Regions from separate parts of the Homo sapiens genome. Here all the other regions are linked to region 1. Evidence: promoter capture Hi-C in 16 types of primary human blood cells and fetal thymus (Javierre and others, 2016). All regions are on one chromosome and are shown on one strand. The core of a region is centred on a gene start or on the middle of the fragment in contact, and the rest is flanking DNA. Distances in the headings are between cores, read along the strand shown. Region 1 holds the start of ADAM10 (ADAM metallopeptidase domain 10). Region 2 overlaps LIPC (lipase C, hepatic type). Region 3 overlaps LIPC (lipase C, hepatic type). Region 4 overlaps SLTM (SAFB like transcription modulator).

What was found. Contacts are between HindIII fragments. The CHiCAGO score rates a contact against its expected background, and 5 or more counts as called.
Region 2: a fragment that was not itself captured here is called in contact with the fragment with the promoter of ADAM10 in region 1 in 4 of 17 cell types (megakaryocytes, M1 macrophages, M0 macrophages and 1 more); the score reaches 9.5 in megakaryocytes.
Region 3: a contact is called between a fragment that was not itself captured here and the fragment with the promoter of ADAM10 in region 1, in 3 of 17 cell types (fetal thymus, total CD4 T cells and megakaryocytes). The highest score is 5.4, in fetal thymus.
Region 4: a fragment that was not itself captured here is called in contact with the fragment with the promoter of ADAM10 in region 1 in 5 of 17 cell types (fetal thymus, erythroblasts, naive CD4 T cells and 2 more); the score reaches 7.5 in fetal thymus.

Annotation. Positions count from the first base shown.
Region 1 is chr15:58,746,739-58,752,984 of GRCh38, reverse strand. It overlaps ADAM10 (ADAM metallopeptidase domain 10), which reads left to right and starts at 3,278. Exons shown (of 16, transcript NM_001110.4): 1 at 3,278-3,505. The coding sequence starts at 3,451. RefSeq lists enhancers at 2,659-2,838, 3,929-4,058, 3,510-4,145 and silencers at 2,909-3,198, 3,529-3,818. The HindIII fragment of the contact is 2,079 bases long and covers 2,475-4,553 here.
Region 2 is chr15:58,522,357-58,529,193 of GRCh38, reverse strand. The region is part of intron 1 of LIPC (lipase C, hepatic type); the gene reads right to left. Among named protein-coding and RNA genes, the nearest start is that of LIPC-AS1, 27 kb to the right of the region's middle. RefSeq lists an enhancer at 6,710-6,837. The HindIII fragment of the contact is 852 bases long and covers 2,304-3,155 here.
Region 3 is chr15:58,509,075-58,515,019 of GRCh38, reverse strand. The region is part of intron 1 of LIPC (lipase C, hepatic type); the gene reads right to left. Among named protein-coding and RNA genes, the nearest start is that of LIPC-AS1, 13 kb to the right of the region's middle. The HindIII fragment of the contact is 5,465 bases long and covers 1,852-5,945 here.
Region 4 is chr15:58,925,556-58,931,751 of GRCh38, reverse strand. All of the region lies in intron 2 of SLTM (SAFB like transcription modulator), which reads left to right. Among named protein-coding and RNA genes, the nearest start is that of SLTM, 5.0 kb to the left of the region's middle. RefSeq lists an enhancer at 3,871-4,370. The HindIII fragment of the contact is 2,423 bases long and covers 607-3,029 here.

The sequences.
Region 1 (6,246 bases), core at 2,029-4,528:
CCCGGCGTGGGGCCCCCCCATCTGCAGTCCCAGCTACCTGGGAGGCTGAGGGGAAGGATCACCTCAGCCCTGGAGGCTGAGGCTACAGTGAGCTGTGGTTGCACCACTGCACCCCAGCCTGGGTGACAAAGTGAGTTCCTGTCTAAAAAAAAAAAAAAGAAAAGAAAAGAAAAGAAATATTGAGGTTAGAAGGCAAAAAAACTTGGCAAAAGTCACACGGTTTATAGATGGCAGAGCTAGGAGTGAAACCCAGGCAGTCTGTGATAGTGTAGATGCAGACCTTATACTTTAATATTTCATCAGTTTTCCATACATTTGCAAAATATCAATAATGAATTAAGTTAAAATAGTAGCCCAAACTTGTAACACTGGAATACCATTCATTATCATGCTGGTATGTAATGCCATTCGTGCATGCTGGTATGTAATGCCATTCGTGCTTGACAAATAAAAAAAATACAGTTTTTCTTTTTTTTTGAGACAAGGTCTGTCTGTGTTACTCAGGCTGGAGTGCAGTGGTGTGATCACAGCTCAATGCAACCTCAACCTCCAGGGTTCAAACAGTCCTCCCATCTCGGCCTCCCGAGTACCTGGGACTACAAGTGCATACCACTGCACTGGCTATTTGATTTTTATTTTTAATTAATTAATTAATTAATTTTTTTGAGACAGAGTCTTGCCCTGTCTCCCAGGCTGGAGTGCAGTGGCGCCATCTCGACTCACTGCAACCTCCGCCTCCTAGGTTCAAGTGATTCTCCTGCCTTAGCCTCCTGAGTAGCTGGGATTACTTGCTTCAGCCTCCAGAATAGCTGGGATTACAGGCACAGGCCACCACGCCCGGCTTTTTTTTTTTTCCTAGCTCTGTCGCTCAGGCTGGAGTGCAGTGGCGCGACCTCGGCTCACTGCAAGCTCTGCGTCCCGGGTTCACGCCATTCTCCTGCCTCAGCCTCCCGAGTAGCTGGGACTACAGGCGCCCGCCATCACGCCTGGCTAATTTTTGTATTTTTAGCAGAGACGGAGTTTCACCATGTCGGCCAGGCTGGTCTCAAACTCCTGACCTCAAGTGATCTGCGGACCTTGGCCTCCCAAAGTGCTGGGATTACAGCTGTGAGCCCCGTGGCTGGCCAAAATAAATACATTTTAAAAATTAAAAAAAAAAATACAGTCTTTATAAATGTAATTTTCAGTAATCATCTTAGTAATGCAAAATATGGCTTTGGAGTTTTTTCCAGTTGAATTTTAAGGGAAAGTGCCATTTGCCTCTAATCACTGGAATTCATTATAAAAATACTGTGCAACAGAAAACATGCTATAAGGTGGTTTAAGAGCTGGAAAATAAAAATATCATTTGTTGACAGCACTACCACAAGAGATTAGTAAAAAGCACAGGTGATATGAGATGTAATGTCTGCAGGTAACTATTTCCTAAGACTGAATATTTTAATGAAGGAAAAAAAAACCATTCGTGAGATTCTGCCATCCTTTGATGATTCCATGTATCTCATTATAAATGGATACAATTATGATGGTTTTGAAACGTCCGTTTTTGAGCCTATTAATGTTGCAGCAAAACTAGAATCATTCATTTCTCAAACTGAGAATTAAAGAAGACTCTTATGGCCAGGCTCGGTGGCTCCCACCTGTAATCCCAGCACTTTGGGAGGCTGGCGGGCGGATCACCTGAGGTTGGGAGTTCGAGACCAGCCTAACCAACATGGTGAGACCCCGTCTCTATTAAAAATACAAAAAATTTGCTGGGCGTGGTGGTGCATGCCTGTAATCTCAGCAACTTGGGAGGCTGAGGCAGGAGAATCGCTTGAACCTGGGAGGCAGAGGTTGCGGTGAGTCGAGATCACACCATTGCACCCCAGCCTGGGCAACGAGAGCGAAACTCCGTCTCAAAAAAAAAAAAATTCTCTTCACTTATGTTAATGGTAATAAATGGTATAAAATATACAGGTAACAGTATAGGAATTCCAGTTTATTACAGTATCAATAACATTAAGGCCGAGCGCAGTGGCTCACGCCTGTAATCCCAGCACTTGTGGGAGGCCGAGGCGGGAGGATCGCTTGAGTTGGAGGTTACAGTGAGCTATGATCACACCACTGCACTTCAGCCTGGCGAGACAGCGGATACCTTGTCTTTAGAAAGCAAAACAAAACAATTTACACACACACACACACACACACACTCTCCCTAATTCGGCTTGAGTTGGAGGTTACAGTGAGCTATGATCACACCACTGCACTTCAGCCTGGCGAGACAGCGGAGACCTTGTCTTTAGAAAGCAAAACAAAACAATTTACACATACACACACACACACACGCACACACACACTCTCCCTAATTCGGCCTACTCAAGCACGATACCAAATAGATGAAGAATATCTAATTAAATGGCCATAAAAAGTTCTAGTTCATGACATCCAAGTTTAAAGAATCAAAATGAGTTACGAGAAAACAAACACAAGCTTTAAGAAGTTGGGGAGAAGATGTGCGTGGATTCGCTTCAAAGATGTGACAGAGAGAAAAGAGGACATTTTCTGGACTGGAGATTCAAGACAGTCTGGTTCAGGTTGCATGCTTTTGCAAAGGCTAAAGCCTTAGTCTGTGACATAAATTTGTAAAGAGCTCGGAAAATTACATCTCGGACATGGTGTCTTTTTTTCCTGCTGCTTGAAGGTCTTTGCATTTATGTTCGCATCACTGGGGCAGCTGCCGCTATAATTACTGCTTGTTGGGACTTTTTGTTTACTTGGTAGCTGTGGTGCACCAAGAGAGGCAGAAAAAGAAGAAAAAAAACCTCTGTTACTTGTGACGTTAAGAAGTCGAAAGCAGCCCTGCTTACATCTTCCACGGACCATTTTAGCCCAAGGGAAGGTCCTCAGCAGCTCTAACACGTAGCGGAGCACTATCTCCGCGTAGGAGCGCTCCCGCCCCGGGGCGGGACCAGGACAAACCCCGCCTCCCAAGCCCAATCCCAGCTCTCCGCCGGCGGACAGGAAGCGGCGGCAGGCCTAGCAGCACGGGAACCGTCCCCCGCGCGCATGCGCGCGCCCCTGAAGCGCCTGGGGGACGGGTAGGGGCGGGAGGTAGGGGCGCGGCTCCGCGTGCCAGTTGGGTGCCCGCGCGTCACGTGGTGAGGAAGGAGGCGGAGGTCTGAGTTTCGAAGGAGGGGGGGAGAGAAGAGGGAACGAGCAAGGGAAGGAAAGCGGGGAAAGGAGGAAGGAAACGAACGAGGGGGAGGGAGGTCCCTGTTTTGGAGGAGCTAGGAGCGTTGCCGGCCCCTGAAGTGGAGCGAGAGGGAGGTGCTTCGCCGTTTCTCCTGCCAGGGGAGGTCCCGGCTTCCCGTGGAGGCTCCGGACCAAGCCCCTTCAGCTTCTCCCTCCGGATCGATGTGCTGCTGTTAACCCGTGAGGAGGCGGCGGCGGCGGCAGCGGCAGCGGAAGATGGTGTTGCTGAGAGTGTTAATTCTGCTCCTCTCCTGGGCGGCGGGGATGGGAGGTGAGGCACGACTGCGAGCGCCGGGGGCGCCGCGACCACGGCGGAGCGGCGGCCGGGCCGAGCGGAGCCCAGTCGCGCCTCGCGGCGTGCGCGTCAGTCAGCCCAGCCGGCCAGCGGCGCCACTCTGGCGGGCCGCGCTCCCCGCTCCCTATTGTCCCCCGCGCCCCGACCGCTTTCCCTTCGGTGGCGGGCCGAGGAGGCTCCCAAGCCTCCGGCGAGGCCTTCCCCGCCCCCCACCGCCCTGGCGGCCCCGGGAGGCGGGGGTCGCCTCCCAGAGAAGCGAAGTCGGGGCATCCGCGTCGCCTGGTGAGAGCGGTGGAACCCAGGCTGGTGGCTGCATCCCTCCAGTCTGCTCGGCGGGCGCCGGTGCAGGCAGCCGCAGCGAGGCTGGCGGTCTCGCCGTCCTCGTTCAGCGCTCATCCTGCTCACCATTCCTCCCCCAGCCCCTGCCCGGTGGCGGATTCCGAAGTCCTCTCCGCCGCCGAGACCCGCCGCGCAGACTCGTGGGAAGTTGTGTTGTTTGCAGCTGGGCTCGTGTATTGTTCTTTACCCGGCGCGCCGGTCCTGACCGACCCCATTCTGCAGAGGGGCCGCCCGTGGAGTGGCAGCAGTCATCACCCGCTTATCTGAGACTAGTGGCCTCGGTTCTTCCTGTGTCCTGTGTTTGGAGAGAGATCACAGGAGGGTGTGTTGGTGTTCTTGAAAACATTCTGTCGCCCAGGGGAAAGGGTTTGGTCGGGAGAAGGGTAAACCATTTGGGGATGTTCTTTGATTTGTAGGCTGGATTGGGTCTCTTAGAGTAGAAGTTCGGTCCCTGGGTGACCCAACTTGAAGAGTTTCGTTAAACTTTCAGGTGGAGTAGATGTACAGTGTAGTTAGTGGATTGTCAAAACAGTGCCCCCTCCCCCCTGCACATGAAAGTCAAATTTGCTAAAAGCATGTCATTTCTTGTTTCGGGTTTTGAAGACAACGATTTTTATTTCCGGTGTGTTCTAGGACCAGCTGCATCATTTTATTCTTGCTTAAAGTGCTTTATTTTAGGTAAGCTTTTTGACTTGCCCCAGAGTAAACTTAAAAACCTCAAGGTGTGCCTAAAAGCAACGATTGAAAAAATTTGAGGAATGCTTTGGATGAGTGTCTGTAGCCTTTGATAATTTAGAAAATATCTATTTCATGTAATGTATTGTTTCTGTTTTTTTCTTTGCCACTTTGACTTATGACTGCAGGACCAAGTGTATTTCTGTCCTGTATTCTACCGAGTCCGAGGGTGGTACTGCGTAGGCAGACTTCTGTTATAGTTTGTAGTGTTCATTTTTTTGTTACACGTTTTATTTAATTTTTTTCAATCCAATTCATCAAGCAAGACACACATTATAGATTAAGAGCTGATAATAGATGTTTAGTTTTAAAAAGGATTATGTGCGGGAGACTCTCTGTTAGAGGAGCCTTTTTCATCTGACATTTGTTATTTCTGTTCTAAACGTGGCTTTCAACAAATCGTTTTCCTATCTTTTTTCACTTTTTGTGATTAAATTCAGGAGTTAAGACACTGTTCTCTATAAGGTAATAAAAAGTAAGACAAACACATGAGGCACTTTACTGAGTAGTAGTATACTAAATGTTCTTTTAAAAATAATGAAAACAGTAAGAAACTGATGTAGTCTTATATTTGAAGAAAAAACAATTGAATAACATGTTTGTGGGTTAAAACTCTTATACAAAAATTTTCTAAATTCATATTTCCAGAGTCCTTTATTGCATTAAGCATTGGTTAAAAGGCTAATTTTTGGTGTTTTTGTTAAGCAGAACTTTTTCAAAAAACATAAGACAAGTTTTATTAGTTTTATTTTAAAATTAGTATCAAGATTCTAGCTTTTGGGTACTTGGAGATACTTGTAATTTTATTGTAACTATGGGGTATTTTTATCTACTAATCTGAGCTATTTTTGGTCACTTGTAAGATCTTTGTATGATGATTTGTAGACTTCAGCACATTGAGATTGAATGTATTTGTTTTAGCATATGAGAGAAAGGAGAAATTTGTGTAGATTAGAAGTTGTGGTGGAAATTTAACTTAAAATGTAAATCATTTTCAGGTAGTTAATAAATCCTTTTTGTTGCTTCCACCTCCCCAATTTGTCAGTCACTGTTGTGTGTGAAATTTTTCTTGCTCTGTATATTACTAGGATGGGAAGCTGGAAGGAATAATTAAAGTGTTTAGAATCATAAAACAAACTTTCCTAATGGTGTCCATTTCCAGCACAGCCCCATCCTATGTTGTAGTTGTAGGAGCAAACCATGTTTTTTTATTTTATTTTTAAAATTTAACTGGTGTGTTTGAGAGCACAAAAGGCATTTCAGCTGTAGCAGTAAATTCCATAATGTTTTGGTTTGATGAAATCATGCCCGAAATGAACTTCAGAGTATGATATGTCTCTTACATTTAAAAATCTGATGTAAGTGCTTAGCTTTGTACATTACTGCTCAATAGAAATAAGTTTTCTGGAAACTTGACCAGAGCTTTAAAGGTAGTAGAGCTTAAGCAGTTAAACTTTCTCTGACTCTGAGTCGGAATCTACCAGCAAATAAGAATTTAATGAAAGAGACAGACTAATTTTGTCTTTATCCTTAAGGATCTCTGACTCTTCATCTTTTTAAAACTTCAGTTTGAGTCCAGTTAACTCCATCATCTTTTTTAAAAAATGTTTTATTTTGTTTATTTATTTTAAAAAGTAGTGATG
Region 2 (6,837 bases), core at 1,480-3,979, 220 kb after region 1:
ATTAATCCCATTGTGTTCTTGTTCCAAAACTTTATTTGATATATCATGACTATCTAGCTCCTGGCTTTGAGCTTCATTTGACCTTATCCTTCATTCCTGTACCAGACATAAACTACACAATTGCCAAGTGAAGCTTACAAGGAATAGAAGGAGGGGTGGGGGCAGAGGACCTTCGACATCACAGTCAAGGGATCTAGGAATATGCAAGTCCTGTCTCAGCCCAGAGCCACCTACCTCATGAAGTTACTGCTGGAGACAAGGATCCTGGGTGCCCTGGCAGGTAGGGACAGGCACTGCTTTAGTATTGGCAGTGATTGTACCTGTAAAAGGAAAATCAGGGCCACTCCGTCCTCCAGGTCAGCTGCCAGAAGATGAATTGGGTGCCTTATACTCAGTGAGAAAAGAAGAGAAGATTGCTGCTTCCTTTCCAGTCTGGACCCGTGGATGGAAGAAACTCAAGTTGGGCCCATGCCCTGAGCGTGGCTTGTTACTGCACAGCAGAAGCGGTTAGGAGCTTGGGCTCTAGCTGGGTATGGTGGTGCGTGCCTGTAGTCCCAGCTACTTGGGAGGTTGAGGTGGGAGGATCACCTGAGCGAGGTCGAGACTGCAGTGAGCAGTGATTGTGCCACTGCACTCCAGCTCAGGTGACAGAGCCAAACCCTGTCAAAGAAAAAAAAAGGCACCGAGCTCTGGAGCCAGATTGCCTGGCTTAAATCCCAGCTCTGCTACTTATTAACTGTGTGACCTTGGGCTAGTTATTTAACCTCTCTGTGTCTCAACTATATAATAAGACTAACAGTAGTACCTACCTTATAGGATTATTATGAGTGACAGATATGTGCCCCTGAGACGTGTTTTTAGGCCGGATTTAATCATGCAAAAAGAAAAGTGAGAGTGAGAGCAGAGGTGACCTGGGAACGCCTGGCTGTTCTGCAGGAATGTTCCCCTCCCTGGAGCTGGAATCTGGGCAAAGATAAACGCTTGCAGCATGAGGAAAGCATTAAGCATTAACTTGGCCAAACAGCCCAAGGTTATTCTTTTTTTTTTTTTTTTGAGACAGAGTTTTGCTCTTGTCACTCAGGCTGGAGTGCAATGGGGTGGTCTCGGCTCACTGCAACCTCTGCCTCTCGAGTTCAAGCGATTCTCCTGCCTCGGCCTCCCGAGTAGCTGGGATTACAGGCAGTAAACCGTGGGTGGGGAGTGTGGGCTGAAAGCATGTTGGATGTGCTCTTTGGGGCAGAGGTTTGGGGGCTGCCTGATGAGAAAATGGGCCTGATCTAGTCCTTGAACCTCCCTAGGGCTTCCCCATGTGCGGACCTGCGGCTGAGAGGGCTGGCTCTTGGGTATGCTTTTAGAGACTGAAGGCCCACCCTGATCCCATTCATTCATTCATTCATTCATTAATTCATTTATTCATTCAACCACACATTTATTAAGCACCTACTATGTGTCAGGGATTGTGAATACACTGTGATACCTAACAGTGAATAAGACAGACCATGCTTTCAAAAAGCTCATGGTCTTATGGTAGAGGCAAGTAAATAAACAACTGTCACACAGTTTGGAAAGTGTTGTGTTGGCCGAAGAATAGGAAAGTGCCCACCCAGCCATAAGGTGGCTGGTGTAAAGGCAGCCAGATGAACTCCATTGGTGGGTGGTACCGCCAGCTCCTCAGATAATCTTGGGAATTTTAATCAAAGGCTGGCCCTGATGGGAGGGAAGGATTATGAAATGTAGGGGGAAGGTGAGCTTATGTGTGGCCAATATGGTCACCTCTAGACTCACAGAGGTTGAGGTCATGGCTGCAGCATGCACCCTGTGCCCTTCAGCTTTCCTGAGGCGCTTGGTGACTCTCATCTTCTTTGAGACTTGCCTGACCCTGGGGTCTGCAGCACAGCGGTTCCTATCCTAGGCATGTTAATTTCCTCATGAAGAAATAAGGAGGGGTTCAGTGACTGCCAAGGCCCACAACTGGCTAAAAAAGCAAACCAGGACCAGAATTCGATTTCTCCGCACATCTAAGTTCTGAGACTATAAAAGTTTTCTGGGCATGTGCACTATTTCCCCTAAGATATTCTTTTGGACCTGTATCCTCCCTTCACCACCCATATCTGGAGGCCCAGCTGACTGCTGCCTGCCCACTTCAGACCACGGGCAGGTACCCGACAGTTTCCAGGTTGCCATAGGGAGCAATGGCAGAGGCAGGGTAGTGGAGTGGCCAGTGGGGCGGGCACTGGCTTTGGAGCCAGTCAGTTCTGTGTTTGATTGTTTAACACTTATTAGCTGTATGGCCTTGGGAAGCTTGCTTAACCAGTAGGAGCCTCAACTTCCTTCTTCTAAGTTGGAAATAGGAAGACCGTCTTGTGTGGGTGGTAGTGAGGATGAACGAAGTTGATGAAATATCTAGTCCAGGGGTTGGCATTCAATGTGTTGTTTCCCTTTCCAAACTTGCCTAAGATCTCTTCCTTCTCATGTCTCAACCCAACATAGTTCCTTCCAGATATTTGTGGGTACTTATCCACCAAGGTCTTTGCCAGCCTATTTGGTACCTCTCTGTGAATTCTGTGCACCTGCTTTAGGTAGCACACTGCCTTAGCTGTGTAGCTTGGCGCGGTGCCTTTGTGCCAAGAAAAGGAGGCCCCTCCTTGGAGTGAGGATTTCAGCCTCCCATCTTCCATTTGGCCAGGTTGTTCTGGGCAAGAGAAATCTACTGGGCTTAGGTGGCAGCTCTGGAGCCTACTTGGCTGAGTCCCTACCTCCACCAGCTAGGGTGCTCCAGCTGTGGGATGCTCTGTCTGAATCAGGCACCTCGAGGAGCCAAACTAGGCTACCGGTTAACACTCTCTGCTAATGAGGAAATCAGTCTGACTGCAAAACACTCCAGCCAGGGTTCTGCCCTTACACCACTGCTAAGGAAACACTCATCCTCACAGCCTCCCTGATATATTACCTAACTTTTTACATTTGTGAGCAGTGGTTCTCATGTATTCATGTGCTGGAGATGCAGACTCCTGGGTGCCATTCCCAGAGCAGCTGATTCAGTAGGTCTGGGAGGCCTGGGAATTTGCATCATCCCAGGGTGGCAGATCATTCTGAGAAGAAGTTGCCCAGTGGTGAAGAGTATGAGTTTTGGAACCAGGCTGGGATCCAAAGCTTGGCTCTGCCGCTAATGAGCCACAATTCTGGGCACGTTTACAGATGGTTTCCTCATGGGGTTGTAAGTGAATGAGATAAACGTGTAAAGTACCTCCCACAATGCCTGGTATATAGCAGGTTCTCAATGAATAAAGGTGGCCCTGGTGGCATTGGTGGTAGTAGAAGTAGGCATTGATATTGCTATTGTAACATCTTCCTCCTTGAAGGGTTCTTCTGCACCTGATCAGTAACAGATCATGAGGAGACAGAATATCAGACAGGATAACTCTTTATGTTGAGGTTATCTGGGATCACCCTCATTTAAACAGATTGGATGGACCAGAAGATCAGTGCTGAGAATCTTCAGGGCAAAGTCCAAACCTCCAGGAAGACATAGGTCTCCTATTTGGCCTTTCCCCAGAACACCGGCCTCAAAGGGGTACATAGACATGGCCTACTGGGACTCTCCCAGAAGGCCTTGCACCCCTGCCTCTGCCTTGTTTGGGGAGTGGGCTGTGCTTGCCTCTTTCCCTGGTTGGATGCCTGCAGGCATATATTGGCCTCCTTGTAGGAGAGAAGAGAATAAAACATGACAGTGAGCAAGGAGAGCCCCAGTGACAGAGCTCAGCTTGCCAGTAAATGGCCAGGGGAGCTCTGAACTAAAAAGGACTATGGGGGAAGATTTGTCCTATTTCATACTAACACGTACCGTAAAGATTCAGTAATTCAAGCTGTGTATACAGGAGCTTGGATAAAGAAGCAGAATAGAAACCCAGAACACTCAAATGCATATGTTTGCATTCAGTATTTGATAGAAGTGACTTCTCAAATTGGCCAGGTTGTTCTGGGCAGTGGAAATCTAATTTCTCAAAGTGCTGGGGTAAAGATGGACTTTAAAAAATAGTATTGGGAGATCTGGAAAAAGATGAAAAGTTATAAGTTTGGTCCATACCTCTCATCATACATCAGGAAAAACTCCAAATGGATCCAATTTTTAAATGAAATAACAGGAATCATAAAATGACCAGAAAAAAAATATGGGCTAATTCCTTGATAACCTTTTGAATAAGAATCTCCCTCTGTGATTCAAAATTCAGAAGCTGTAAAAGATTGTTAAATTAGACTACATTAAAGCAAACAAAAAACTTCTGTATGACCAACTAAATTAAAAAAAGACCATAAGCAGAGGCAAAAAATGAACAATAAAGTGAGAAAAAATAATTGCAACTCATAACACAAAGGGCGAATATCCCCGATATCTATAGAATGCCTAGAAATCAAGGAGACCAAGGACAGCAACCCACAGAACAAAAAATGGGCCAACCAAGGACATGAGGAGCCGTTTCACAGAAAAAGGAATATGAATGGCCCTTTGACATATGAAAAGATCCTCAACCTCACTCCTAAGATGAAAAATACAAAGTAAATATATACTGAGACACAAGTCTCAACCATCAGATTGGTAAACATTAAAAAGTGTGACCACACACCTTGATGGAGACACTGGCAGGAATGCAAAATGGTGCAACTCCAATGGAGAGGGATTTGGCAACAGCTATGAAAGTTACAAATGCATTTTCTCTTTACTCAGCATTTCCTGCATGGGACTCTACCCTGTGGCTATATCTGCACACTTACGAAATGAAATTAATGCAAGGTCATTCATTGCAGGATTGTCTGTAATTGTAAAATACTGGAAACATCCCAAGTGTCCATCTAGTGTCTAGATAACTGAACGGGGACATATCCCTCAATGGAATACTTTGCAGCTTGACTAAAGAAACACTCTGTACTGATTTGAAAAGATTTCTAGAATGTACTGCTGAGTTGCCAAAGTAAGGTGCAGAACAGTATCTAAAGTGTGATACTTTTGTGGAAGGGTGGGGGCATAAGTAAATAACTCCATGTTGGCTTTCAGCTGCGTAAGGTTATGTTGGAACGATACAGATGAGATGAATATAAGTGGTTACCCATGGTGGGAAAGGGGGAGGAGGGAATGGATATGGACATCGTGGGATGGGGGTGAGATTTTGCAAATCTATTCTATTTTACATTCTTTTAATTTCTGAGCCATGTTAGTATTTACTTCCTTAAAAGAATTTCTTTTCTTTTATTTCTTTGTATTTTTAGAGACAAGTTCTGGCTCTGTTGCCTGGGCTGGAGTGTAGTGATCGTAGCTCACTGCAGCCTTGACCTCTTGGGCTCAAGCGATCCTCCCTCCTCAGCTTCTCAAGTAGCTGGGATCGCAGGCACATGCCACCAGCCCTGCTCCACTAGCTAATTTATTTATTTATTTATTTATCATAGACACAGGGCCTCACTGTGTTGCTCAGGCTGGTCTCAAACTCCTGGCCTCAAGTGATCCTCCTGCCTCGGGCTCCCAAAGTGTTGGGATTATAGGCGTGAGCCTCTGTGCCTGGCCTGAAAAATAATTTTAAATAAAAAAAAAATCCCAGCTTGTTTCCTGCTTGCACTTTCCATGATAACTATTTCTCTGGATGCTGTTCACCTACCCCTGCAGCCCCTTCATGCCCCAGAGAACTCTGGGAGTAGCTCTCTTGCTGTCTGACTGTGGAGTCAAAGGGTCCACTCACCTCGTCTGTCTTCTTGGCTTACGTGTCTGTCTAGCTAGATGCTGACCTTCTTGCCTTCAGTTGCACCTTCACCGACTTGGGTCCTAGTGGCCCTTGATTTCAGCTATTTAATAGGTCAGGGGGTCAGTTTCCTTCTGAGAGTAAAGGTGACCTGAGAGAGGAAAGGTGGCCCCCACAGAGAACTCCCCACATCAGCTGCTTCATCTCTGGCAGAACTGACTCGGCAGATGGCAAAGTGCTTGGAGCCACCGGAAGCCAAGGTGCAGAGAATTCTGTGGAAGGAAGCTGGCTTGCAGCTCAGAAGCTGGGCAGCGAGGGCTGCTGGAACATAGAGGTGCCCGCTCATTTGGCAGGGGTGCCCAGAGCGAGAGGAAGTGGGGCTCCTCAGTTAGGAAGCTTTGTCAGACATCCCCCTACTGCCCCAGGGCTTCACAGAGGCCCTGGAGAGACTGATGCTTCCCCAGCAGCCGGTCCATCTGGGCTGGTGCTCACGCAGCTCTGGGAGCTAGGATATTTTAGATGTGTCAAAAGTGACGAATGTTGGAAAGTGCCACGGGCATCTCTGGGAGCTCACAGTTCACACTGGCAGCTAAGATGTGCCGAGCTTTTTGGAAGAAACTGAACTCTGGAGGAAACTGAGAAGTCTTTTGCTGTCCCAGATGTGGGTGGCAATGGGATGGGCTCTGCAAGGGGACAGAGCCCCGACATCAATAAAGATGGGGCTGGGCCATAGCAATGCCTGAGGTCTTGGCAGAAAGAAGTGGCATTCTGAGAGGGCAGCAGGGGCAGGAAGGAGCAGGAACGTGTGGATTTAGAAGCAGGCACGCAGGGGCCTGAGGTTGGAGTCAGCAGAGCTTGCAGCTGGCAGCACCGGGGGCTGTGGAGTCGGGCCTGTTCAGTTCCGCTTGCCAGGATGGAACAGGGGCAGCAGCCAGAGCCAGCCTGAGGCTGGAGGTGAGCCCGGGGCCTTCGCCCACAGTGAGGCTGGAACAAGGCTCCAGTGTGTCTGGATTTGAAAACACCCCAGGGAATGTGTTACTAGAATTCAACATCTACCCCGAATATAATGCATCCTAAGACGAGGGTGCCTTGGTGTTCTGTTTGCAGC
Region 3 (5,945 bases), core at 3,335-5,834, 240 kb after region 1:
GCTGAAAAAGGTGAGGAAACGGATTCTGTCCTCAGAGTCTCCAGAAGAAACACAGTTCTGTTGACACCTTAATTTTAGGACTTTTGACTCCAGAACTGTAAGATAGTGTCAATTTAACTAATTAAATTTGTAGTAATTTGTTAACAGAAGCAATAGGAAACCGATATGCAGCCTTATTTCTGCATTAACTTTTTTTGAGATGGAGTGTCACTCTGTCGTCCAGGCTGGAGTGCTGTGGCACCATCTTGGCTCACCACAACCTCTGCCTCCTGGGTTCAGGCTGTTCTCCTGCCTCAGCCTCCGAAGTAGCTGGGATTACAGGTGTGCACCACCATGCCTGGCTAATTTTTGTATTTTTACTGGAGATGGGGTTTTGCCATGTTTGCCAGGCTGGTCTCAAACTCCTGACCTCAGGTGATCCTCCCGCCTTGGCCTCCCAAAGTGTTGGGATTCCAGACGTGAGCCACTGCACCTGGCCTGCATTAACTTTTTATACTTACTAGGAAAGAGGTTTAACCTTTCTGAGTCTCTGGTCTACTTTCAATCAAATAGCATTAAAAATGTCTTCTATATGAGATAAGGGTATAATGAAATAGTGCATAATCCTATTTGAAATAATATAAAATACTCCTTATAATACCAAATACTACTACTACTTCTACTACTACTGGTACTACTGGTACTGCTAATGCTTTGCAAATGCCTTATAGACATTGTTTGACTTTAATCACTAAACAATCTTATGAAGTAGCGATTGCTATCCACCTTCCACAGATGCTCAGCCAAGACTTAGAAAGGGCGAGAAGCGTGCTCAGCCACACAGCTAGAAAGTGGAGGAGCTGGAATCCCCATTACAAACAGGTGTTCTGGCTCCTTTAGTTATGCTGGCGATGATAAACTTGATGCCAGTGGGGGCTTTTACGATGATGCTTATTACTGTACCACTCTGTTGTCATTCTCTTCTCATGCCTCTTTCCTGTAACAACATCTGATTGCTTCACTCATCATATTCCAGCCTGTCACCAGCTCGTCACGGAAATGATTGAAATGCTACTAATTCTGCATTATGGCCTTCTGGCTGGGTGAACTTGGCAAAGGCTGGGGAGATGTTTGTGTATCTAAGAGCAAATGGCCCCGAGGTTTGGAAACGGAAATGCTCCTCCCACCACACCCAAGAGAAATGTGCATGGTGAGGAGTCCTGGGGTTCTCAGCCCCTTGTGAGTGGAGCCAGGACATAGATGCCAGCTGCCGTGGGGTTTCTCCAGAATTCTCAGCTGCACAACTGTGAACTGAGGGAGTTGCTTTGAGGCAGTGTGGCATACAACACCTTATCCTTTTATTTGAGGGACGTGCTAAAAGTTTAAGTAGTCAGCTTTCCAATCCTCATCCTCCTTCTTTCATTTACCTGTTTCCTCTTCCTTTTTCCTCCCATCACCTTTGATTCTGAATATTTCCCTCTGCTGTTCTGAGGTCTGTTTTTAGGGGGCTGGCTTGGCTAACAGGAGTTAGGACAGAAAGGGCCGGCTCTGCATGAGCTCTGCTTTCTGCAGCCCAGAGCAACGGTTTGCTTTGAAGATTGTTGAGAATATTTGGATTAATAAGATTTGTTCTAATATTTCCCTTCATTTCTGATCATCAAAGTGCTTGGAAGGTTTGAGCTGGTGCAGAGTTTCTTCTAGTTTGTCCTTGGGAGCAAGTGTCTGGAACAGGGTTGATTTAAAAATGTTTTCTGACTGAAGCCTTGTTAATGGGGCAGGCTGCAAATTCACATCAAGGGAGTGTCATCTTTCAAAGCAGCTTCTTGGCAGAAGGGGATGTGGAATATTAGAGAAATCTGAATCTGTTAAGCTTCCATTAAATGAACCCTTGATTCCAGACTGTGCTGAGCGGAACCTAGGGACTGTGGGCCGTGAGTAATTGACTTCTTCAGTGGCAGGATGCCTGAGAAAGGTCGAGCGTCCTTTGGGATGAAACATCCACCAGTTTGAAGGAGGTTTTTGCTTTTCTGTATTCCTCTGTGTCTCCTTTTCTATGTACTTTTACTTTTTTTTTTTTTTCGTTGATGCTTTGTGTTTTGCCCAATATAATGGAGATGAAAGGCGGAGGTCTTGTGCCGGGGTCTGGAGGATGTGTGTGGAACGACCCTCGTTGTCATAGGTCATCATTTTATGGCTGTCAGCCTTCCTCACATTGACTGTAAGTACCTTGAGGACAGGGGCAGGATTTTACCTTCCATCCCCTTTCCCCGCCTCCTACCTCGTTCCAGTGCCACTGTTGCTCAACCCATATTTGGCAACTTATCCCAGGGCGCCTCTGTCTGCTGAAGCTCTGACCCTGTGACCAGGCCACTTTAAGATGGGTGGGACAGGTCTGAGACTCCATCTGCCTTCCTAAAAGACTGCTGGATCTGGAGATGTCACCCTGTGGGCTGTGATTCCCGTGGCTTTTCCAGGTAGTCTCGCAGACCCAGCCGGCCCAGGCCATCCTTCTCACCTTCTCATATTGCTCCTGGTTCAAAGGCCCCATCCCCATTTTTCACATCTATTCCTGACTGATTTGCGTGGACTTTCTGTCTTAAAAAGCAAAATAAAACATTGTAGAAAACTTAGAGAAAAACAGCCAGGTGCAGTGGCTCATGCCTGTAATCCCAACAACACTTTGGTAGGCCGAGGCAGGTGGATGACCTGACGTCAGGAGTTCGAGACCAGCCTGGCAAACATGGTAAAACCCCATCTCTACTAAAAATACAAAAATTAGTCAGGCTTGGTGGCTCATGCCTGTAGTCTCAGCTACTGGGGAGGCTGAGGCAGGAGAATCGCTTGAACCTGGGAGAAGGAGGTTGCAGTGAGCTGAGATCATGCCATTGCACTCCAGCCTGGGGCAACAGATTGAGACTCCGTCTCAAAAAAAAAAAAGAAAAAGAAAAAAAAGAAAACATAGAGAAAATCACCAAAATTACCTGTATTCCCATAATCAGAGATAACTATTGTATTATGGTTGTGATTTCCTTCTAGGTTTTAAAATGCTGTGTGTGTCTCCATGTGTATGTTTGAGTTTAATTGTGTGTATGTGTGTGTATATATATAATTTAGAATCCTGATTTTATAACTCAATGTTTTGTCTTGAACACTCCCCCACGACATCAATAATTGGCAAGAGAGAATCCTAACGTGTGGTTGTACCAGAATTATAATATTTGAACAACCCTCTACTGTTGTAACTTAAGTTACAACCACAGTTTTTTCCAAATGTAAACCACACTGTGATGCAATCTTATTCATAGACCTTTCTCTATATCCCAGATTAATTCTCTTTGAATGAATTCCTGGAAATGGGATTACTAGATTAAGTGACATCAACTTTTAAAAAGACTCTCAATACCTATTGCCAGTTGTCAGCGCCAATTTAGCTTTGCTCATGCAAACCAGCAGGGTGCCCTTGTCTTCTGGACATAGTGGGTTTTACCAGTCATATGTATAGCTCTCCCCTGAGAACTTGCCTGGGCCCTAACCCTTGGGATGTGGTATTTATCATTCATGTTCCTGCAGCATCTGATGCCATCCCTGGAGAGCCCCACGTATGGGTAAATGCAATGCAATGGTAAATGCAATGCAATGGTAAATGCAATGGAATGATTTATTGCCTGCATCTCCTTGCGTTAGGGCCTTGGGGTTAGTGAGGATTCAGTTACTCTGCTTTCACCACACTCCCTCCCCAGGCAGATCCCCGAGACAGAGAAGAATGGGGAAGAGGACTGAAGGATGCCTTTGAGTTGAATGAACAGCTGAGAAGTCTTAGCTGGAAACATGCCAGAATTACACAAGACCATGGATAATCATTTAATTCGTATTTTGTACCATTTCATGTAGCCGAGAAGAAAAACATAGGATGTAGAGTCAGGAGCCCTGGATTCTAGTTTTGGGTCTTCCAGGCATTAGCTGAGTTATGTTAGGGAAGTCTCTTAAGCTATTTGAGATCCAGTCTCTTCATCCGTAAATATACAAAATAATAAGGCCTTCCAGGTGCGGTTGTTGAGATGCTGAAATGAGACGTCATCACGTGACAGCACTTTGTATACTAAAGTATTTCTGGAAGGAAGTGCTGTTATCCTCACCAACTCCATGTGGAACAATGTGCATTACTTGGCAATGTGTCACTCTTGCTGAGAGGTCCTTTCAGGACGTGTTATGATCTTATGTTTTGCTTACTTGTTTATTATAGTATTTCATTGAATCCAGTATACACAAATAGCATGATATACCATTGTTTAACATACCACTAACAAGGAAAAAAGCAAGTTACAAGTTAAAACCTGATGTCTTAGTGATAGTCTTATGTGAATTGGTCACAGTGCCTCTTGTTGTTTGGAGATTTCTTTCCCCTACTTTAGGGTTTGGCAGTTTCTCCTACTCTTAGTTGCTTTGCTTAGAGCCTGATGGGCAATCCTCTTGCATGTGCACCAGTAAAGCACAGCTTCATATATTGTGATTACATTTCATAAAACACTTTTTGTTACTTTGTAAGAAAACATAGGATGATGGTTACTCTAATGATGAATATCAAATTTATGCCTCACCTCTGTCTCTGTGCCTTTTTATGTGCAAATAATGAGTTAGTCTTTTCAAAAACCTTCTGAATGGAAATTAAGCTCAAGCCATGCACTGCCACTCAAAAAGGCAAGCAAGTCAACTGAAGCGATGGCAGTTAAGAGCCCTTTTTATCAATGTCACAACCATGCCCTAGCCCACAGCATTGTAAGATATATTCCACATTCAAAGATATTAAATAGGAACAACAGTGGACCTTACAACTGAAGACATAAAGTATCTGTTTCCCATACCAGGGAGCTGTGTCCTTGTCTATTGTGTCTTCCACCCTATGCCCAGTACCTAGCACCATGTTGGCATTCAGAAGGTACTCAGCAAATACATGTTTAGTAATGGAGAAAACAATACAATTCTGCGCATGTACATTTTATTAACAGTGGAACTGGATAAAGTCTTATGGAATGAAATAGTATATAAATAGCTTCTTCTTTTTCTAAACTCTTTTTTTTTTTAATGATTCAATAGATCCAATGGTACAAAAACCCCTTTCTTATAAAATTTTTTAATTGGTGATACCAGTTATAACAACTAAAATTTTGACTGGTAAATATAATAATAGATATCCATTGACAGCATTCCTATCATATTATGTAATTTTGTATAACACTTGTCTGTTTCTAAATGCAGACATGATATCACTAGTAATAGGGACAGAAGTGATTCTTGGTCACCAAGCAGGGTAAATTTGGGAGTATAGGAAACAATTTCATCCATGTAAATGATGTGGCAAAACACTGCGTATACAGAGAGTCCTGGCTTACTGGGGAGTTGGTAAGCCATAGTATGGCTATTATATGTTAAAAAAAAGAATAAAGATTGTGTTTGGGAAATGAATTTTGCAGGGAAAAATAGAAAATTATATTTATTTACTGAACACCTATTAGGTTAGCACGTGGTCTTTTAATCTTCACAGCAATCCTTGGAGTAGATAGCTTTGCTTCATTTTGCAAATGGGGAACCTGAGACTCAGAGAGAGTAACCTGCCTGTGGCTAGTAGGTAGTTGCTCCAGTATTCCAATTTCAGTCTTCTTGATTCTACAGCAATTGCTTTTCCAACCATTCTATGCTGACTCAGAAAACCTGAGAGTTTCGGAATACCTAATAGGAGTTAATGAACATTTAGGAAGACTGGGGCCAGCCCTGGAGGTGGAGTGGAGAAAGTGGCTCATCATCTGAGGAGGAATCAAGCTGGTGACATTGATGGATTCTATTCTATCTAAACCATTCACAGTGGATTGATGTATTTCCCAGACAACACTGAGGAGAATGTGTGGATTTGGGTACAATAACAAGAGAGGATTCTGGTGATATGTTCCCACAATTGCCTGCATACATAT
Region 4 (6,196 bases), core at 569-3,068, 180 kb before region 1:
AGAGCAAAATATATTTATTTCTAGGATATAATGATTTAGTGACTAGCTAAAAGTGGTTTTAAATGAACGTTTTGCAGTATGAATGGAACTTAGGTATTTTTTAAAGCTTCTTGGTAAATGAAACCTTTATTTGAATAACTGCAAATTTCTCCCTCCTATAAGGACAGTGGCAGAGGGTGGACATGATATATCTGGATTCTGGTCTTTACCTACAATTTTCATGCAGAGTTTGTCATGAACAGCTGCTGCATTTTTTGTAATCTAATTTTCTTTACTGCTTTAAGTGATCCAAGTGTTACTCCCAACCACTGAATGATTGCAACTAAAATAAAATGAATGGATTAATATTGAAAAGGGAATATTAAATTTTGATCTTAAGCACACCTGGGTATCAGAGATGAGGACAACTCACTATTTTAAGTCTTCCTAGGTTAGGAGAGTCCCCTGTTTGTGCCAAAGGAAATTGAAAAGGGCTAATAAGCATTCCCTGGGAGAGGTGGGGATGTAGTTTAGAGAAGTAAAAAAGTTATCTTAAAGGTAGCTTTTAAGATAACTCTGACTCAGTGTATCACTTTGAGAGATACATTTTCTGTATTTAAAGAAGCTTGTCATGAGAAGACTGCCAACAAACCAGAGGCTATTTCAAAATGGAAAACGATAGAAATTCAGAAATAAGTATATCAGGAATTAACCATGTGTCTTGCAGTAGTTTTGATTCATATCTTTTACCTAGCATGCTGTGCTAGTTTGACAGGTACTGTGTATTAATCATAGTCCCAGGTTGTTTGAGTTGACTATTATTTTAGCATTGAAAATAAACATGATTTATTCCTTTCTCACCTACTTTTAATTTCTCTGTATATCCCTTTTTCAGTTTTGACTAGGAACATCATTTATCTCTTATTATTAGAAATAATTTCAGCAATATAAAATTTTAAGGGTTTTTTCAATACATTTTATGACAGGTATATATATCTATATATATGATATATAGATTATATATAGGTGTATATATATCATATATGATATATATATATATTTTTTAATAGGGTATTGCTCTGTTGCCCAGGCTAGAGTGCAGTGGTGCCTAGCTCTTTGCAGCCTCAAACTCCTGGGCTTAAGTGATCCCTCCCACCTTAGCCTCCCTGGTAGCTGGGACTACAGGCATGTGCCACCACAACATTTTAAATAAGTAAACATTATTTATTTTTATCAGTATGTTTGCTAATTTTTTTCTTTGTATGGGTTATACTTGAACTTTATTCCATAACTCTGATGTTAAGAGGTCTTAAGGTATTCAGTTAGAAGTTGTAACATTTGGGGGCCGGGTGCAGTGGCTCACGCCTGTAATCCCAGCAGTTTGAGAGGCTGAGGCGGGTGGATCACCTGCGGTCGGGAATTCGAGAGCAGCCTGGCCAACATGGCCAAACCCCATCTCTACTAAAAATACAAAAAAAAAAAAAAAAAAAATAGCTGGGCATGGTGGCGCGCGTGCCTGTAGTCCCAGCTACTCGGGAGGCTGGGGAGGCTGAGACAGGAGAATCGCTTGAACCCAGGAGGTGGAGGTTGCAGTGAGCTAAGGTCACTCCACTGCAGTCCAGCATGAGACCCCATCTCAAAAAAAAAAGAAGTTGTAACATTCAATCATTTGTTTGTAGCAGGCCTCATTCTAAGAGATGCATGACAAAAAGCTCTAGTCTTCTTGAAATCCGGCTATCATTGTTATGAAAATCTTGTGAATTACAAAGAATATAATGTAAATCTCCAACTCCAAACAGTTTGAATTAATTTACAATAAAGATGCTTATTGATTCAATTATTTTATTTTTATTATTTTTAATATGAGAGATTTTGAACCCAGTTTACTTATTAAAGAATGCTCTTGTCTCAAATTCCAAGCGCTACTGATCATCTTTAGAGCCAGTTTTGCTTAAATGCGTCATACCAACTCAGTTCTAGCCTTCTAAAATGGCAGAGTTCTAAAATGGCAGAGATGTTTTCTCTGCCATTTTACAAAGTGATAAGATTATTTTAGGCCGGGTGCAGTGGCTCATGCCTATAATCCCAAAAGGCCAAGGTGGGAGGATCGCTTGAGTCCAGTAGTTCAAGACCAGCCTGAGCAACATAGTGAGACCCTATCTCTATTTTAAAAAAGAATTAAGATGTTTAAATAATAACTTTTAGAAACCAAATTTGTATAGGGAAACTTATTAAAATATCAATAATGAACAGATTTGAAAACCAAGGATATATTAAATATTGTTTTAATGTGATGTCCGTTTTTCTTTTCTTTTCTTTTTTTTGAGATGGAGTTTCGCTCTTGTCACCCAGGCTAGAGTGCAATGGTGTGATCTCGGCTCACTGCAACCTCCGCCTCCCGGTTTCAAGCGATTCTCCTGCCTCAGCCTCCCGAGTAGCTGAGATTACAGGCATGCGCCACCACTCCAAACTAATTTTGTATTTTTAGTAGAGACGGGTTTCTCCAGTTGGTCAGGCTTGTCTTGAACTCCCAACCTCAGGTAATCCTCCCGCCTCGGCCTCCCAAAGTGAGCCACCGCACCTGGCTGATAATCAGTTTTTCAATCAAGTTGCTGAATTACTACATTCAATTCTTTTTGCCAGATCTTGTTTTACTTACTGGTATCTACATTGAAAATAATTTCATCTTGGTTATGCCACTTTTCCTTCAGTGCGCCTGTTTTCTCTTTTGTAAAACTGGAAATTTTACTAGGTCCCCTGTAAGGCTCTTTTAGTTCTGAAATTTAATAATTATATAGACAAAAATGAGAAGAAAATGCTTTCTGTTTAACTAAAATGATGTTTAAGGAAGCAACAGGTAAGCTCATAGGAAATCAGTATCGTTTTTCTTCAGCACAAATTATTAGAAAACGAAAAGTGCCAAGAAGGGGATTACGTAGAGGTAATTATGTAGACATCAGCGAGACATAATATATAATAGCTGGTCAGGAAAAGAAATGATTCTTATGACAATATTAAGGTAGTGAATAAAAGTTAAATGACGAGAAGCTTCATAGGTATGGAAAAAATACTTTGGTGAAACATTGAGCTTATTCTTTTATAAAATAACTATAGGGTAACTTTCTTTTAAAAATGTATGTTAAAATGATTCTATTTAGAGAGGTTAGAGGGAAAGGAACCTACATTTTTAAGTTTCTCCTAGAATATTTTTTAAATGCAGCTATTACAAGCACAAACAATGTTGATAATGTTATAGTGGGCTCTGACATTTATATCAACATATTTATAAAATTCCTTTACATGTAGTTAATAGAGTAGATGTTTGTATCTTAGAATGGCTTTCCTGAGTCTTCACACTCTCTTTGTTATGAACTTTTAAATAAGTAACTTAGGAGAAAGCTTCACCCATTGAAGTTTACGGTTATATTAATTGGGTGTGTGTTTAAAAAGTAGTTAAACAGGTAGAGCTAACTTCTCATTAGGTTGTTTTAGAGATTATAGATTTAAAGACTTTTGGTTTACCTGATGCTGGCATATCCTTTTCTTTTAAAATTTCAACCTTTAAAGTCACCAATTAACTTCAGCAAAAGTGATGTGGTTAATCAGTACAGTATTTAGAACTATATGTAATGCAATACTTACCGACATTAAAACTAATTTGCAATACCTGGCAGCTTTAAAAAGACTAAAAATGATGTGTACAATCTGATTTTTCTTCTATAGAAACAAATATATTTTGAGGTTATAGGTTTGGCCAAACATCTAATGTATAATTTTTTGTGGAAAATACCACAGACTACATATTTATAATTAAGTACATGTTTACTCTGTAAAGCTTTCTAAAACTGGTATCAATTAAATGTAGTAATCAGCCATATAAAGCACATTTCATATAACACAGTATCATAGTGTACTGTAATTAGCTTTTTTCCTCCAGCTGTAGTATGTTCAGATGTTAAGTAACACTTTAATCAGAACTGTGGCATTGAGGAGGACTTTGGGCGTATAATTGTTATAGATATTTCTTAGGTACCTGAAAGGCTGAAAGCTCTGAAGGCCAGGACATAGTTTTTCATTTACCTCTGTCTCTGTAATGCCTGGTGTAGAGCATGGCACGTAATAAGTGCTCAAAAAATATTTGTTGAATGAATACTGAGGGCCTTTTTGGGGCTTTCTTAACTGCTTTTAGAAATACCTCTTTTGGGCCAGGCGCATGGCTCACGCCTGTAATCCCAGTACTTTGGGAAGCTGAGGTGGGCGGATCACCTGATGTCAGGAGTTTGAGACCAGACTGGCTAACATGGTGAAACCCCGTTTTTACTAAAAATACAAAAAATTAGCTGGGCATGGTGTTTCGCATCTGTAATCCTCGCTACTTGGGAGGCCGAGGCAGGAGAATCTCTTGAACCTGGGAGGCAGAGGTTGCAGTGAGCTGAGATTGCGCCATTGCACTCCAGCTTGGGCAACAAGATCATCATCTTTAGATAATCTGTTCATCTTTAGAAACTTGGTCTCAAAAAACAGAAAACAAACAAAAAAAAGAAATATCTCTTTTGGTGCCTATTTTAATTGCATATTTCTTTGTAAGAAGCAGGTATATCAGGGATTAATAGTTTTTATCTTTTTTTTAAAGGTGCCTCTCTCAAGAGCATAATGGCTTCTCCTTACACATTGATATGTAAAATATACTTACTTTTAGAACACATGAATCATTGCATCATCCTTTTATTCTTTACCACATTGATGCTGTGTTGAAAAGCCTCTGAACCTTGCTGGAATACTGTCCAACCTCAGAGGTTGTATATGTCATTTTCATTTCACAAAATTAGCCCTTTTATCGCAGCCATTAAAACATACATTTGGCCAGGCGCGGTGGCTCACACCTATAATCTCAGCACTTTGGGAGGCCGAGGTGGGTGGATCACAAGGTCAGGAGTTCGAGACTAGCCTGGCCAACATGGTGAAACCCCCTCTCTACTAAAAATACAAAAATTAGCCAGGTGTGGTAGCATGTTCTGTAATCCCAGCTACTCTGGAGGCTCAGGCAGGAGAATCACTTGAACTTGGGAGGAGGAGGTTGCAGTGAGCCGAAATGGTGCTGCTGCACTCCAGCCTGGGTGACAGAACAAGACCCTGACTCAAAGAAAAAAAAAAAAAAAGGTAATCCAGAAAAGTACAAAAAAGTGAAGATTACCCGTAATCCCACCACCCTGAATTTATCATATGTAGCATTTTACATATGATATATATACATGTTTATAATTAAGTACATGTTTACTCTGTAAAGCTTTCTAAAAGTTAATCTAATATAGTAATCAACCACATAAAGCACATTTCATATTACAACACATGTTGATCTAAGTTGTGTAGGTGTATGTGCAAGTACTTACAGGAGGTTTATGTTTAAAGGTTTTTTCCCCCCTTTTCAACAACTAAAATAGATTCACACCATACATGGTGTTTTGTTGAAGGTAGATAGAACTTAAATATTTCTGTAGTCTGGAGAATCAAAAAACAATAACCTTCCGTCTATATTCTTCTCAACAGCTTCTGTAAATAGATTCACTTGTCTTAGTGGCTCATGATCTGCACTCTGCGTTAGTCATTTGAATTTTAAAAAATACAGATAGCAGGCTTTCACTCCCCATAGAGTTGGTTTGGGTTGTTATGTTGGGGGCCCAGGCATCAGTATGTATTTTCTAAAAGCTCCCCAGGTGATTCTTACATACACCTGAAGTTAAGAACTAACTAATCTAAACTAAAGCTTGAAATTTAGCATCATTTTTATTCATCTCTCTGCTGGTCAGTTTCTAGATTATTTTATATACTTTTCAGTTTTCGGAAAACTTCTACATTGCTTTATTTGATTCTCACAACGGTGCTGAGAGTTAAGCAGGACTATTTTCTTTTTACTGGTAGAATAGAAAGGTAATTCATTAAGAACCCAGTTAAATTACCTTTGACAGTCTTGTGTTTGTAGGCACACCTGCCTGAAGGAGTGTGCCGGAATTGTTTATTCTGTTCATCTTTAGATAATTAATGTAAGATATTTGAAAAATATACCTTTGGCATATTCTAGGTTTATTATAATGAATGTGAATTATCTTTGTAGTAATTTTTCAAAGTGACCTATTGGGCCAGGTGGGATGGCTCACTCTTGTAAACCCAGCACTTTGGGAGGTGGAGGCGGGTGGATCACTTGAGGTCAGGAGTTCGA